Regions from separate parts of the Homo sapiens genome. Here region 1 is linked to region 2. Evidence: promoter capture Hi-C in human tissues and cell types (Jung and others, 2019). All regions are on one chromosome and are shown on one strand. Each heading gives the region's core, a stretch centred on a gene start or on the middle of the fragment in contact. The rest is flanking DNA. Distances are from core to core; before and after follow the strand shown.

Region 1 (5,263 bases), core at 1,598-4,097, 36 kb after region 2:
TGGAGAATGACTTTGACGAGTCAAGAGAAGAAGGCTGCAGATGATCGGTAATAAGAAACTTCTCCAAGCTAAAGGAGGATGTTCAAACCCATTGCAAGGAAGCTAAAAACCTTGAAAAAAGAGTAGACGAATGGCTAACTACAATAAACAGTATAGAGAAGTCCTTAAATGAACTGATGGAGCTGAAAACTGTGGCATGAGAACTACGTGACACATACACAAGCTTCAGTAGCCGATTTGATCAAATGGAAGAAAGGGTATCAGTGATTGAAGATCAAATGAATGAAATGAAGCGAGAAGAGAAGTTTAGAGAAAAAAGAGTAAAAAGAAATGAACAAAGCCTCCAAGAAATGTGGGACTACGTGAAAAGACCAAATCTACATCTGATTGGTGTACCTGAAAGTGACGGAGAGAATGGAACCAAGTTGGAAAACACTCTTCAGGATATCATCCAGGAGAACTTCCCCAACCTAGCAAGGCAGGCCAACATTCAAATTCAGGAAATACAGAGAACGCCACAAAGAGACTCCTCGAGAAGAGCAACTCCAAGACACATAATTGTCAGATTCACCAAAGTTGAAATGAAGGAAAAAATGTTAAGGGCAGCCAGAGAGAAAGGTCGGGTTACCCACAAAGGGAAGCCCATCAGACTAACAGCGGATCTCTCAGCAGAAACTCTACAAGCCAGAAGAGAGTGGAGGCCAATATTCAACATTCTTAAAGAAAACAATTTTCAACCCAGAATTTCATATCCAGCCAAACTAAGCTTCATAAGTGATGGAGAAATAAAATACTTCACAGACAAACAAATGCTGAGAGATTTTGTCACCACCAGGCCTGCCTTACAAGAGCTCCTGAAGGAAGCACTAAACATGGAAAGGAACAACCGGTACCAGCCACTGCAAAAACATGACAAATTGTAAAGACCATCGACACCAGGAAGAAACTGCATGAACTAATGAGCAAAATAACCAGCTAACATCATAATGACAGGATCAAATTCACACATAACAATATTAACCTTAAATGTAAATGGGCTAAATGCTCCAATTAAAAGACGCAGACTGGCAAATTAGATAAAGAGTCAAGACCCATCAGTGTGCTGTATTCAGGAGACCCATCTCACGTACAGAGACACACATAGGCTCAAAATAAAGGGATGGAGGAAGATCTACCAAGCAAATGGAAAACAAAAAAAAGCAGAGGCTGCAATCCTAGTCTCTGATAAAACAGACTTTAAACCAACAAAGATCAAAAGAGACAAAGAAGGCCATTACATAATGGTAAAGGGATCAATTCAACAAGAAGAGCTAACTATTCTAAATATATATGCACCCAATACAGGAGCACCCAGATTCATAAAGCTAGTCCTGAGAGACCTACAAAGAGACTTAGACTCCCACACAATAATAATGGGAGACTTTAACACCCTACTGTCAACGTTAGACAGATCAACGAGACAGAAAGTTAATAAGGACATCCAGGAATTGAACTCAGCTCTACACCAAGCAGACCTAATAGACATCTACAGTACTCTCCACCCCAAAACAACAGAATATACATTCTTCTCAGCACCACATCACACTTATTCCAAAATTGACCACATAGTTGGAAGTAAAGCACTCCTCAGCAAATGTAAAAGAACAGAAATTATAACGAACTGTCTCTCAGACCACAGGGCAATCAAACTAGAACTCAGGATTAAGAAACTCACTCAAAACTGCTCAACTACATGGAAACTGAACAACCTGCTCCTGAATGACTACTGGGTACATAACAAAATGAAGGCAGAAATAAAGATGTCCTTTGAAACCAATGAGAACAAAGACACAACATACCAGAATCTGTGGGACACATTTAAAGCAGTGTGTAGAGGGAAATGTATAGCACTAAATGCCCACAAGAGAACGCAGGAGAGATCTAAAATTGACACCCTAACATCACAATTAAAAGAACTAGAGAAGCAAGAGCAAACACATTCAAAAGCTAGCAGAAGTCAAGAAATAACTAAGATCAGAGCAGAACTGAAGGAGATAGAGACACTAAAAACCCTTCAAAAAACCAATGAATCCTGGTTTTTTTAAAAGATCAACAAAATTGATAGACTGCTAGCAAGACTAATAAAGAAGAAAAGAGAGAAGAATCAAATAGATGCAATTAAAAATGATAAAGGGGATATCACCACCACTCCCACAGAAATACAAACTACCATCAGAGAATACTATAAACACCTCTATGCAAATAAACTAGAAAATCTAGAAGAAATGGATAAATTCCTGGACACATACACCCTCCCAAGACTAAACCAGGAAGAAGTTGAATCCCTGAATAGACCAATAACAGGTTCTGAAATTGAGGCAGTAATTAATAGCCTACCAACCAAAAAAAGTCCAGGACCAGACAGATTCACAGCCGAATTCTACCAGAGGTACAAAGAGGAGCTGGTTCCATTCCTTCTGAAACTATTCCAATCAATAGAAAAAGAGGGAATCCTCCCTAATTCATTTTATGAGGTCAACATCATCCTGATACCAAAGCCTGGCAGAGACACAACAAAAAAAAGAGAATTTTAGACTAATATCCCTGATGAACATCGATGCAAAAATCCTCAATAAAATATTGGCAAACCGAATCCAGCAGCACATCAAAAAGCTTATCCACCATGATCAAGTTGGCTTCATCCCGGAGATGCAAGGCTGGTTCAACATATGCAAATCAATAAATGTAATCCATCATATAAACAGAACAAAAGACAAAAACCACATGATTATCTCAATAGATGCAGAAAAGGCCTTTGACAAAATTCAATAGCACTTCATGCTAAAAACTCTCAATAAACTAGGTATTGATGGGACATATCTCAAAATAATAAGAACTATTTATGACAGACCCACAGCCAATATAATACTGAATGGGCAAAAACTGGAAGCATTCCCTTTGAAAACTGGCACAAGACAGGGATGCCCTCTCTCACCACTCCTATTCAACATAGTGTTGGAAGTTCTCGCCAGGGCAATCAGGCAAGAGAAAGAAATAAAGGGTATTCAATTAGGAAAAGAGGAAGTCAAATTGTCCCTGTTTGCAGATGACATGATTGTATATTTAGAAAACCCCATCATCTCAGCCCAAAACCTCCTTAAGCTGATAAGCAACTTCAGCAAAGTCTCAGAATACAAAATCAACGTGCGAAAATCACAAACATTCCTATACACCAATAACAGACAAACAGAGAGCCAAATCATGAGTGAGCTCCCATTCACAATTGCTTCAAAGAGAATAAAATACCTAGGAATCCAACTTACAAGGGATGTGAAGGACCTCTTCAAGGAGAACTACAAACCACTGCTCAGCAAAATAAAAGAGGACACAAACAAATGAAACATTCCATGCTTATGGATAGGAAGAATCAATATTGTGAAAATGGCCACACTGCCCAAGGTAATTTATAGATTCAATGCCTTCCCCATCAAGCTACCAATGACTTTCTTTCTTTTTCTTTCTTTCTCTTTCTTTCTTTCTTTCTTTCTTTCTTTCTTTCTTTCTTTCTTTCTTTCTTTCTTCTTTCTTTCTTTCTTTTTCTTTCTCTTTCTTTCTTTCCTTCCTTCCTTCCTTCTTTCTTTCTTTTTCTTTTTTTGATGGAGTCTCGCTCTGTTGCCCAGGCTGGAGTGCAGTGGCGCCATCTCAGTTCACTGCAAGCTCCGCCTCCTGGGTTCACACCATTCTCCTGCCTCAGCCTCCCGAGTAGCTGGGACTACAGGCGCCCGCCACCACGCCTGGCTAATTTTTTGTATTTTTAATAAAGACGGGGTTTCACCATGTTAGCCAGGATGGTCTCAATCTCCTGACCTTGTGATCCACCTGCTTCGGCCTCCCAAAGTGCTGGGATTACAGGTGTGAGCCACTGCGCCCAGCCTGACTTTCTTCACAGAATTGGAAAAAACTACTTTAAAGTTCACATGGAACCAAAAAAGAGCCCACATTGCCAAGACAATCCTAAGCCAAAAGAACAAAGCTGGAGGCGTCACGCTACCTAACTTCAAACTATACTACAAGGCTACAGTAACCAAAACAGCATGGTACTGGTACCGAAACAGAGATATAGACCAATGGAACAGAACAGAGCCCTCAGAAATAATACCACACATCTACAACCATCTCATCTTTGACAAACCTGACAAAAACAAGAAATGAGGAAAGGATTCCCTATTTAATAAATGGTGCTGGGAAAACTGGCTAGCCATATGTAGAAAGCTGAAACTGCATCCCTTCCTTACACTTTATACAAAAATCAGTTCAAGATGGATTAAAGACTTAAATGTTAGACCTAAAACCATAAAAACCCTAGAAGAAAACCTAGGCAATACCATTCAGGACATAGGCATGGACAAGGACTTCATGACTAAAACACCAAAAGCCATGGCAACAAAAGCCAAAATTGACAAATGGGATCTAATTAAACTAAAGAGCTTCTGCACAGCAAAAGAAACTACCATCAGAGTGAACAGGCAACCTACAGAATGAGAAAAAATTTTTACAATCTACCCATTTGACAAAGGGCTAATATCCAGAATCTACAAAGAACTTAAACAAATTTACAAGAAAAAATCAAACAACCCCATCAAAAAGTGGGCGAAGGATATGAACAGACACTTCTCAAAAGAAGACATTTATGCAGCCAACAGACACATGAAAAAATGCTCATCATCACTGGCCATCAGAGAAATGCAAATCAAAACCGCAATGAGATACCATCTCACACCAGTTAGAATGGCCATCATTAAAAAGTCAGAAAACAACAGGTGCTAGAGAGGATGTGGAGAAAGGAACGCTTTTACACCGTTGGTAGGACTGTAAACTAGTTCAACCATTGTGGAAGACAGTGTGGCAATTCCTCAGGGATCTAGAACTAGAAATACCATTTGATCGAGCCATACCATTACTGGGCATACACCCAAAGGATTATAAATCATGCTGCTATAAAGACACATGCACACATATGTTTATTGCGGCACTATTCACAATAGCAAAGACTTGGAACCAACCCAAATGTCCATCAATGATAGACTGGATTAAGAAAATGTGGTACATATACACCATGGAATACTATGCAGCCATAAAAAGGAAGAGTTCATGTCCTTTATAGGGACATGGATGAAGCTGGAAACCATCATTCTGAGCAAACTATCGCAAGGACAGAAAACCAAACACCACATGTTCTCACTCATAGGTGGGAATTGAACAATGAGAACACATGGACACAGGG
Region 2 (5,690 bases), core at 1,335-3,834:
GGAGCCCGAGAGCCATGCAGAGCTGAGGAGCTGGAGCAGGAAGTGCCTCGGCTTCAGAAGAAAGGAGGACTGATGAGATGGGAGGGGGCAAAGTGGAGGATGGGGGTCCAGCAAGGAAGCCAGCAGGTTGGGGATGGCATGGCTAAAAGGGCCAAGAGGAAGGGGCAGACTGGAGAGCCATGACTAGGTCAAAGCCAAATGCCTTTATGTAAACAGAAGTGTGGGGACCTGGACTAGAACCACAGGAGGGGAACCGGGAGGGAGAGGCGAGAAGAGGGACACTCTCTGTGCTGCAAGAGGAGTTACCCCACCCAAGAACCTGAACACAAACCCACCCAGACACAGACAGCACATGTGCATTCCCGCTGAAGGATACTGACTTACAGCCCGGGGACCATATTTGGCTGATAGAAGTTTTGCTTTGTTTTGTTCCTGGCCTGTTCATTTGTTTTTGGTGAATTAGTTGCAAATGTATAAAAAGCAAAAGATTTTAGATTTTACATTTTAAATGTTGGATTCCTGGCTTCTCCTGCAAAATGAAAGAATCTGGCCACCTTAGGCCCCCGTTCCCTTGTAACACTCGCCTGGAGTTGGCAATCGGGGCTCTTAGGCAGATCTAGCCTCTCCCCGACAGGTCCCACCTCAGCCCCCTTCCCTGCCTGGCATGTGTCATTCCTAATCCACAGCAGAACTGCATCATTCCTTGTATACACTGATGGCCTGAGGGCACATACACTCAGAGCCCTAGGCGCACAAGCCATGGGCTACAGAGACCACCAGGTGCAGAGTGGCTCACATGCTCCGGTGTGTCTACGCACACATACATGCACACACACACGATTCTCTGCATTCTCATGCCGGAGTTTATTCTCCAGTGCACTGTGGTTCGTTCTCTGTGTGTGTGTGTGTGTGTGTGTGTTTGTGTGTGTGTGTGTGTGTAAATATGAGCAAATGAAGTGAGGATGAATGGAATGAATGAATGAATGAAACTCAAAGAGCCTCAGTGCAGGAAGACATGTTTTTCAATCTTTCTGACCTTCTTGTCAATATGGACTAGCATCAGACACCTCCTCTTAGCACATATAGGGCCTTTCATGTGAGTACAAAGCTCTTTTCCCTTTACAGCCCATTTCTATCACTACGTCTCTCTTTCCAGAGTCTCAATTTAGTAAATGTTTACCAAGCACCTACTAGCTGTTGAGCCATGTACCCGACACTTCATGCAGGAGTATCTCATATCACCCTCACCAGCCCCACGATCCGGAATTACTGTCTCTATTTCATAAAACATGGCCAAGATCCCATGGCATGTATGGGAGGGTGGAGGACAGGAGTTGAATGCAGATTCCCTAAGAATTATTATCATGTACAAACCTGCAAACTCATACCCCTGTGCTGGTGGCATCACTCCACCAGCCTTCCCTGGCTCTGCATCCCTCACTCATAGACTCTTCATTTTATCCAGCTGTTTATCAGCAACCGTGAGCACCTTGAGAGCAGGCATAAGTTTGAATTCCATCTGGGTCCCCAGCCTGCGCCCAGACTGCTTTTACTTTCCAGTGAATAGACAGAAAAAAGAGATGTGTTTGTTGGTTGGCTTTTTACTCTTAGCACCAAAAACATTTTCCTGAGTGCCCAGCCACAAACAGGGACCAGCAGTGGGTGCCACATGGGTGCTCAGAAGTGGCCCCCACCCACACCCTCAGCACCTTCCACCCAACTCAGCTCCTGGAGTGGCCCAGGAACCCCTTTCCCAGACTGATATATTGATGCCTCCACACCCTGGAAGAAATCTGGAGCTCCCAAATTCTGGGAGCAGAGCTCTCCTTCATGCTGCAGGAACCCAAAACTTTTTTCTTAGGATGCCACAGTGAGAGGGCAGAGAAAAATGAGGATTCCTCTCACCCAGAGTTAGGACATCTCTCTGTTTCATGCCCAGGTTCAGAGATATTCACCAGTTACACAAAGGCCGTGCCCAATTACCCTAACATAAGCAGAAACACACCAACTGACATAGCTGCTCCCGCCCACCATTCACACCCCACGACCCCACCAGTTACTAATTTCATCTGCAGTCAGACAGGTCCTGAAAGGAACACTCCAGTTCCACACACACTCCCCCAGCAGCTGTTCCCACAGCAGTACCCACAGACACCCAGAAGTCACGTAGTGTGACCCTCGGATCTTCGGGCCACGCGAGTACCCCGTCACACGCACACGCGCGTACACACACACACACACACACACACACACACACACAAAGTGCCCCTGGGAGTGAGACCCAAGCCAGATCCACCAAGACCCGCAGGGGCCCAATACCCCACCCGCCGCGCGCACTGACACCCGGAGAGAGGGACGCACAGCGGCTGTGGGTGAAGCTTCACAAAACCCAGTCGATAGACACACGCACGAGTTGTACACAAAGCCTTGGGGCGCGCAGATACGCACACGCAGGTCCACGCTGTTGTACCCAAAGTTGCGCGCAGAAAGCCCCAGCACGCCGGCTGCCCACCGCGCCCGCTCCCGCCGGCCCAGTCCACACCCCCTGCTCCTGCCCTTGCCCACAGACGCGGGACCCGGAAGGCCGAACCGGACCAGGCGGAGGCCCGGGGAGGCCGGGTCCCCTGGTCGCATGTCCTTCGGCGGGCCGCGAGGTCAGGCTCGCCGTCCTTCGCCGCCACTCCCCGCCCCCGGCCCTCGGCCTCCTGCCGCCCCCAGCGGTCCCCTCTCCGCGTGCGTACCTGTGCCGGGCCTCCCTCCCCGCCTCACCACGCTGGGGCGAAGGGCGCCCGGCCGCCGGCGGGCGAGGGTGCGTCCTCTCCGGTGCCCGTCCGCCTTCCTGCAGCCGGCGTACGCCTGCGGGGGTCTCGCCTGCGGGGGTCTCTCTCCTGCGGCGCAGCCCGGAGGGCGCGGGCCCGGCCGCCACCGCCTCGCCCTCCCGGTCTCCCGCCCCCTTCCCGGCCCGGCCCGGAGCCACTGCCGAGGCGCACGTACCTACTCGCGCCGCGCGGAGCTGTACGGCGGCGGTGGCGGCCGCTGGGGAGGCGGGGGGGGGATCCGGGGACGGAGGGACGGGAGAAGGGGCGGGGGCCGGGGCTCGCCGAGCGCCGCGGAGGGAGCTCCGCCCGCGGCCGGCGAGGGCGCCCGGAGAGTTAGCAAGGAGAGGGACAGGAAGGCGGGTGATGGGCTGGGGCGAGGGTGCGGGGGCTCCGATCCACCGTCCTCCCCTCCCCTCCAGGCAGATCTGGATCGCCGGCGCCTGGGCTTAGGGAACTGGGGCTTGGAGCCCGCGGTCCACGGGCGCAGGGGCGGGGCGGGCGGGGGCTGCTGAAGAAGATCCCTCCCCACCACCGGAGAGCCCCTATTGCGCCAAGCGCAGGTGCCTCCCCACTCCTCACCCCCACTCTGCCACTTCCCCTTCCCCCCACCCCCACCCCGCACGCAGCCCCCAGGTAGGACCCCGGGTCCTCTCCGAGGTCCTTAGGTCGGGACGGTCTCCTCGGGCGCTTGCGGCTCCGTGGCTCAAGGGCGCCACCTGAAGGCTGCAAGAAAGAATCCGACGATCCCCCTCCCCCTTTTCTCTGCAATTTTTTTCTCCGTGGGACAGTGGAGTGCTCCGCCCAAGAGGGGTGTTCTCCTGGGGGCATTGCCAATGGCCAAACACACCCTCACCCTCCAAGGCCCAGCTGTGGGGCCTCTTCTCCTGGAACCCCTCCCTGGGCACACACCCACTTACCCCACGGGCCCCTCCATCTGGGCTCTCCTTTTGCCCGCACTGTTTGCTCTTGTCTCTGACGGTCGTGATTTTGTTTAAGGGTCAGCCTCCTCCATCGGATTGGCAGCTCCTGGAGAGCAGGACCCATGTCTGATCACCTAGAAGACCTAGGTGGGTGTGGGTGAACAGGCTGTGAAAAGGGGTGACTTTCACTTCTTTCCTTTACAGGGCCGGAGTTAAGATGAGTCCAGCGAAGTGCCTAGAGTACCAAATTCATGGAGACGTTTCCTCTTTGGGGAACACACGCCAACCCCAGAGACAGCTTTGGTCTGAATCGTGCAGGTTCCGGGAAGACACGGTGACCAGCTGAATCGTGTGGTCTCGGTTAGTACCTCTGGCCTCTGAGCCTGTATCCACTTCTGTCCATGAGGATTGTGAATGTGCAGGCTTTGAGGGCTCTGGGAAGGCCAGCAGAAGTTGGCCATGTGGAAGGACAGGCGAATGAGTGTGCCATGTCCTGCTCCTCGGCCACCTCATGAGCGGAGCCTGACCTGCCCTCCTCCAAAGTTCTGTGCAGCCCTCCCCAACCAGGAGACTGGAAGTCACCCTGGATGATGGATGCCTGTGCCTTCAAGGCCAGCATAGCCTAGCCCTAGGCAGGTCCACCAGGGCTGGGAAGGCCTCCATTTCCTCCCAGCCTTGCAGAGGCCTGGCCCGTTGTTAGAGACTTCAAAGGGATGCTAGCCCTGGCACCACACTCCTGTTCAAATCCCAGCTCCACCCCCACAGCTGGGTGCCCTGGTGTAAAGGACTGCCCTCCTGGAGCTCGGTTTCCTCCTCTGTGAAACGGATGTAGGAAGTGTTATGGGAATGGGATGAGATACCGCCTTTAAAGCACTCACTGTTCCTTCCCTCAGTCATGCGCTGTCCTACCTCAGCCTTTGCGCTGGCTGTTCCTTCTGCCTGGGACGTTTTTCTTTCTGATATTTCCCGCACTCACCCCCTTCCCTCACTTCCTTCAAGTCTTTGCTCAAATGCCACCTTCTCAGAGACGCCATTCCAGGCCATCCTTTCAAAAATAGCAGTGCCCCAGCACTCTTTACTCCCTCACTCTGAATTTTTCTCTATAGCACTTACCAACTGACATTAGTTTCTGTTTGCTTATTGCCACCTCCCCTAAAAAATAAGTGCCAAAAGAAGAGGGTTTTTGCCTGTTTCCCTCCCTGCAGTATCCCCAGACACTAGAAAAGGGGCTAACACCTAGGAAGCTCTGGATAAGTGCTCACTGAATAAAGAACAGAGAAAATGGGCAAATATTATATACTAGTTAGCTAGGTAGACTCCATCCCTACACTCAGGAAGCTTGTATTCTAGTGGGAGAAAAGGATAAGTAAATGTAACATTGCAGTTATAGTAAATGCTACCAAATAAAAGTATAGAGTGCAAGCCTCAAACAAGGGTGCCAACCTAGTCTTGGGGATAGGAATGGCTTCCTGTAAAAGTGTGGACTGAGCTGAGATTAGAAGGATGAGTAGAAGGCAACCAGATAAAGAGGGGAGGAAAGAGAAGTCCAGCAGAGCGCCTAGCATAGGCGAAGACCTTGGGGTAGAAGGAAGTGTGTGACGAGTTTGAGAGTTGCAGGAGACCAGTATGGTTGTCATGGAGGGCCTGATAAGGAACCTGGTAGGAGACGAGCCTGGGCTTAGCAGGTCAGGTCACTGCAGAGCCTTACAGGCCAAGTAATTTGTTCTTTATCCTCAGAGCAGTGGAGAGCCTCACTGATGAATGTAAGTAAAGGGTTAACAAAACCTTTTCCTCTTTTGCATGAGAATTTGACCTTTGGAAGCTCTGTTTCCTGGAAACAGATAAACATATGTCTGCTATGTTACTAAGCAACATTGCTTCTGATAAAAATGACCCCTGAGGAGGAGGCTAGAATGATCCATGTGGCAACAGATTAGAATTGGAGATACCA

Evidence for each region. The method cuts DNA at HindIII sites, captures the fragments that hold promoters and counts their contacts. A contact is called where the count stands out against the background at its distance.
Region 1: a contact is called between a fragment that was not itself captured here and the fragment with the promoter of TMEM74B in region 2, in 1 of the 25 tissues and cell types used here (heart left ventricle).

What each region holds. Positions count from the first base shown.
Region 1 is chr20:1,217,863-1,223,125 of GRCh38, forward strand. No RefSeq gene overlaps it. Among named protein-coding and RNA genes, the nearest start is that of RAD21L1, 5.6 kb to the right of the region's middle. The HindIII fragment of the contact is 6,646 bases long and covers 1-5,263 here.
Region 2 is chr20:1,182,397-1,188,086 of GRCh38, forward strand. It overlaps TMEM74B (transmembrane protein 74B), which reads right to left and starts at 2,585. Exons shown (of 3, transcript NM_001304748.2): 1 at 1,906-2,585; 2 at 1,375-1,552. The coding sequence starts at 1,405. The HindIII fragment of the contact is 7,340 bases long and covers 1-5,690 here.